Linked DNA regions of Homo sapiens: region 1 is linked to region 2. The links are contacts of gene promoters, found by promoter capture Hi-C in blood cells and fetal thymus (Javierre and others, 2016). All regions are on one chromosome and are shown on one strand. The core of a region is centred on a gene start or on the middle of the fragment in contact, and the rest is flanking DNA. Distances in the headings are between cores, read along the strand shown.

Region 1 (2,750 bases), core at 206-2,705, 70 kb after region 2:
GGCTCTGGTCACACTGAGCAGATAACCCAACTCAGGGCTGAAGAAGCCTTGCCCGATTTGTTCCTGTCCATGGGGACAGAGTCCACTTTACGCTGGCAGGAGGTGAGTCACACCACCTCACACTTCTGGGGACCGTTCCCTCACCTCTAGTCCAGAGACCTCACAGGCAGGCAGCCCAGTCAAAGCCTCCTCTCTCCCATGGGTCCTTGAGCAATCCGAGCCCCTTCCTGAGGCTTCACAGTGGCCAAAAGAACATTCTGTGATGATAGAGGCATGCCTTGTACATACTCTCCAATACCATTGCTACTAGCCCCATGTGGCTATTGAGTATTTGAAACATAACTAGTGTGATTCAGGAGCTGAATTTTTTTTTTTTTTGAGTTTCGCTCTTGTCACCCAGGCTGGAGTGCAATGGGGCGATCTTGCTCACTACAACCTCCGCCTCCTGGGTTCAAGCAATTATCCTGCCTCAGCCTCCCCCGTAGCTGGGATTACAGGCACCTGCCACCACGCCCAGCTAATTTTTAGTTTAGTTTCGTTTTGTTTGGATTTTTAGTAGAGACTGGGTTTCACCATGTTGGCTAGGCTGGTCTTGAACTCCTGACCTCAGGTGATCTCCCTGTCTTGGCCTCCCAAAGTGCGGGGATTACAGGCGTGAGCCACTGCACCTGGCACAGGAGCTGTATTTTTTACTTTATTGAATTTTAACTAATTTAAATTTAAATAGCCACATTGCCATGTGGCTGTTGGCACCCATATTAGATCACAGGTCTAAGCAGATAGCCCTGGGCTCATCTGTCACCACTTTTTCTCCTAAACCTCTGTGCTCCAACTCTTGAAGGGCCCAACCCTTTGCACAGATAGTTCCCTCCACCTGTAGTGCCCTTCTCTGATCCAGGACGAAATTTTTGCAGCCTTGAAGCCTCAGTTTCATTGCTTTCCACTCTTTAAAAGGAAAGTCTTCTTAGACCACTCCCAAAATTATTACACCTTCATCCTGCTCTTCCTAGCCAAGGGTGCCTCTGGGTCTGTTTCTGCTGTAGCCCCTCAGTCCCTGGATGCCTGGCCCTGAGGTCCTCTTCCTATTCGAAGCTCCCGGCACAGGTAGGGCTTCGCAGAGCAAGGGGCACAAGGGGTGGACATAAAACAAAAGTCCCCTTGCCAGCTGGGGACAATCACTCTTTGCTTTTAACAATTTGGGGGACTTTCCAGACCAGGCCCCACAGAGGCAGAAAGCCCCTTTCCCACTTAGCACTGCAGAAGCTCTAGTCCTAGCTACGTGGGAGGCTGAGGCAGGAGGATTCTGCTTGCCTCAGCCTCACCCACTTCGTATCCCTAGCAAAACTCTGCCAAGAGCTACCTAACCTGCTCTCCAGGAGCAAAGAAAAAAAAATCCCCAAACCCAAAACAATAACAAACTCCTTACCTCCCCCTCACAGCCTCCTGGAAATACTGCCCTGTCCCGCCCAGCCCTCCCTTCATTTATTTCCAGCCCCCATGAAGCTCCTCCCCAGCCTTCAGCCCCAGCTGGGGAAAAGAGCTTGGGGTGAGAGCTGCAAGCCAGCCTGACTTCCAGAAAAGGCCTAAAAGGAGGGGAGAAGGCATGTTTCGAAAGCTTTGGCAAAATGGATGGCCCATGACATGAGATCAAGCACAGAGGGCACAGAAAGCAGGCAGATGTGGGTTGTGGTCCCAACTCCACCCCATATCAGCTTGCTTGAGCTTAGACAGATCACTTGACTTCTGTGAGCCCGTTTCTCTTCTCTGTGTAATGACGATAATGATTCTTGTTTTATAGGGTAGTGGTGAGGATTAGTGACAATAAAAGTAAAGGGGCACAGTGGCTCATGCCTATAATCCCAGTGTTTTGGGAGGCTGAGGCGGGAGGATTGCTTGAGGACAGGGGTTGGAGGACAGCCTGGGCAATAGAGTGAGACCCTGTCTCTGAAAAAAAAAAAAAAAAAGAAAAGAAAAGAAAAAAGAAAAAAGTAGCCTGGGTGCCGTGGCTCACGCCTGTAATCCCAGCACTTTGGGAGGCCGAGGCAGGTGGATCACTTGAGGTCAGGAGTTTGAGACCAGCATGGCCAACATGGTGAAGCCCCGTCTCTACTAAAAATAGAAAAATGAGCCAGGCGTGGTGGTGTGTGCCTGTAATCCCAGCTATCTGGGAGGCTGAGGCAGGAGAATCGCTTGAGCCTGGGAGGCAGAGGTTGCGGTGAGCTTAGATCACACCACTGCACTCCATTCTGGGTGACAGAGTGAGACCCTGTCTCAAAAAAAAAAAAAAAAAAAAAAAAGTCCGGGCACGGTGGCTCACACCTCTAATCCCAGAACTTTGGGAGGCCGAGGTGGGCAGATCACAAGGTCAAGAGTTCGAGACCAGCTTGGTCAATATGGCGAAAACCCCATCTCTACTAAATATACAAAAATTAGCCGTGCGTGGTGGTGGGTGCCTGAAATCCCAGCTACTCAGGAGGCTGAGGCAGGAGAATCATTTGAACCCGGGAGGCAGAGGTTGCAGTGAGCCGAGATCACGCCACTGCACTCCAGCCTGGGTGACAGAGTGAGACTCTGTCTCAAAAAAATAAAAATAAATAAAAATAAAGGCTTTGCAAACATAAACACTCAATGGATCGAAGTGATTATTAGTATTACTGATAATTTTTTATTTTTATTTTATTATTTTTAATTTTTTTGTCTTTTTCTCAATTTGATAATGTACATATTAAATCATAGCAGAGAGTAAGACA
Region 2 (2,718 bases), core at 20-2,519:
AGACCTGGGTTCCAGTGCTGCCTCTGCTCTGTGATTTGAGGCAAATTGTTTAACATCTTGGAGCCTTACCTCCCCTGTGACTTTTGAGGATAATATTTTGCCAGTGCTTCCAAAAAGGTTGCTTACAGTCTTAGCCTGGGGGCCAGGCATAACTGTTGTGAACTATTACATTTCTTTCGCAGTTGACTCAAATGATTGTTTTTCCATTTCCAGTTTCTGGGGAGGGTGTGCTCTGCACCTTCTTGTTACCCCCATATGCTGCCCTCGCTAAGGACCTTACCCTAGGCCCATCTGCCAGGCCCAGCAGGTCTGATCTGGCCTCACCAGGCTCCAGCCACCCTGGCTGTCTTGTAGTTCGCACAGAGGTTCTTACCCTTCTCAGGGCTGTTGCTGGGACTGTCCCTTCCCTGAAGTGCAGTTCCTCCCCTTTCCCTGGTGACTCCTGACTCCTGGCATTTACACCTTCAGCTTAAATGCGCCACTTTATCTAAAATGCGCCCCCTTCCTGGTTTCACCTCTGCTTGTTCATTGCCCTTATTATACCTGTAAACTATTCTCTTCCTTTGTTACTTGCTTTTTATTCCCCTCACACTGGGCTTTTAGTAAGCTCCATGAGGTCAGGGGCCATTTGTTAGCGCCTATAAATACTGTGGAATCACTCAAACCCTAGGGCCGGTGGCACCAGGAAGTACTGGATAAGGAACCGCAACACTAACTAACTGGGGCTCAGTGCTCTCTTCCGCCTTCAGTGCCCTGCTCATCAAGGGTCTGGGTGAGGCCCCAGGTCATAAGGAAGCCCTCGCTCGACTGCCCCGGGGCCCATCGCAGCCCCCAACCAGCCCCGAGCGGTCTGATGGTGCCCAGGGAATGGTTTCCAAGGCAATAGCAAACGGGGCGGGGCTTGGAACGGAGGACAAGGCTCGAGCCTAGGCAGGAACTTCCCGGGAGAGGAGGCGGCGACGCGGAGGGGCGCGGGATCAGGGGCCCTGGGAGGGCGAGCGCGGCGAGGGGCGCATGCAGGGCCCCGACGCGCCACTGCTCCTGAGCGCGAGGGAGCTGGGGCCCGGGCGCCGGGGCTCGGCCTCCTGGTACCGCCAGGAGGGCGGCGCGGTGTGCAACTGGCTGCGGAAGCCGCAGCCGCTCGAGCCACGCACCAGTTTCCCCTCGGCGCGCCGCTCCGAGTTCCGTCCACCCAGGAGGCTGCCATGGGCCGGCCCTGCCTCCGCCCAGTCCGAGGAGGGTCACGCAGGCGGCAGATGCCAGGCGGGCAGCCCCGCCCCTGCGCGCCGCCTCAGCGGCGCCTTCAAGACGCTGGTCCCAGGCACCCACGCCCAGGGCGCCTCGGATACCCACCCCCTCGGCCCCCCGCACACCCCGGTCCTCGACCCCTCTCCGCAGGATGGTGAGGCCCGTGCGGCCCGCTCGCTCTGGCCTACAGCGGCTGCGAGGACGACAAGACGCTGGGGTGGAGGGACTGGGGGTCGGGAGAAGAGCGGCTGAGGGTGGGCATCTGGATGAAGGCAGGAGGAAGAAAAGAGGCGTGGCTATGGGCGGCCAGAAAAGATCCTAGGCCGAGACCCTAGGCCCAGCCTCAGTGTACCCCGCCCCTATTCCGCATCTTTCTGCAGGTTTCCCGGTCCTCTGGCGAGGATCCTCCAAGGCGTCTCACATGAACCGGCTCAGAAACGCCAAAATCTACGTGGAGAGAGCTGTCAAGGTCAGAGGAGGGGCAGGGGCGCTTAGAAAGGGCCCTGGGAGCGGCTCAGCCTGTCTCCCTGCGCTGTTTTCTTATATCCTTAAAAAACAAAAGCAAAAGAAAAAACAATAGCAAAAATCCTCAACCACCACACCCATCTTCAACTACCTCCCCGTTTACCCCTTCAGCACCAAACTTCTGGGCTCCCTCCACTCTGGTTCCCTGCGATGTCCCACTCTAATCAAGGTGCCTGGTGAGTTCCAGGGAGCCAAACCCAGCAGTGCCTTTCGGTCTTGATCTCGGTTGGGCACCCTGTATCTTTCGACACCGCTGCCCCACACACCCTTCCTCTTGGCTGTCTGACTGCACGCTCCTAGTTTTCCTTTCTCCCTCTTTGGCTGCTGCTTTTCAGCGGCCTTTAAAGGTTCCTCAGCCATTAGTGGCCCCCTGGCCCCTTCCCCAGGTCTGTCTCCTTTGGCTGTGTCCTTGGCTGAGTCCAGTCAGTGTGCTGCACCCTCTCCGTGCCCCTTCCAGCCCAGCCTCGAACTCCACATCCCGTAGATCTAGCCCCTACCTGTCATCTACACCCAGAAAACTTAACAAGCATTTCAAATTCATGTCCCAAACCAGACTTTGATCTTCCTGCCCAAACCTGTCGTCCTCCCCAGTCTCCAGTCTTTCCCATCTCTCAGTTCCTCACGCCAGAAATCTCATCTTTCTGTTTCTTCACCCACAGGTCTAATTCCATCAGCAAAACCACTTGTCATCTCCACCTCCAAAACGATTCTCAACTCTAGCACCTTCTCCCGTCTGTGTTGTAACCACCTTCATTTTAGTAATTGTGATTTCTCTCCTAGGCAAACTATGACAGCCTCCTAGCTGGTCTACCTCCATCCTGTCCCCTCATCTTTTTGTAATACAGCAGCAAGCCAAGCTTAGAAAGATTCCCTCAGTTAGCCTTTTTTGCTCATGACACTCTTAGTATGAAATCCAAGTCCGTTCCAAGGCCTGCAGGGCCTTCC

Evidence for each region. The method cuts DNA at HindIII sites, captures the fragments that hold promoters and counts their contacts. A CHiCAGO score of 5 or more calls a contact.
Region 1: a contact is called between the fragment with the promoter of CIDEC here and the fragment with the promoter of TTLL3 in region 2, in 9 of 17 cell types (erythroblasts, naive B cells, naive CD4 T cells and 6 more). The highest score is 9.3, in erythroblasts.

Annotation. Positions count from the first base shown.
Region 1 is chr3:9,878,798-9,881,547 of GRCh38, forward strand. CIDEC (cell death inducing DFFA like effector c) reads right to left here and starts at 1,456. Exons shown (of 7, transcript NM_001321142.2): 1 at 1,427-1,456; 2 at 145-257. The HindIII fragment of the contact is 5,760 bases long and covers 1-1,613 here.
Region 2 is chr3:9,808,993-9,811,710 of GRCh38, forward strand. TTLL3 (tubulin tyrosine ligase like 3) reads left to right here and starts at 1,270. Exons shown (of 14, transcript NM_001387446.1): 1 at 1,270-1,402; 2 at 1,629-1,717. The coding sequence starts at 1,670. The region is part of intron 4 of ARPC4-TTLL3 (ARPC4-TTLL3 readthrough); the gene reads left to right. RefSeq lists an enhancer at 342-491 and a silencer at 972-1,451. The HindIII fragment of the contact is 3,571 bases long and covers 1-2,628 here.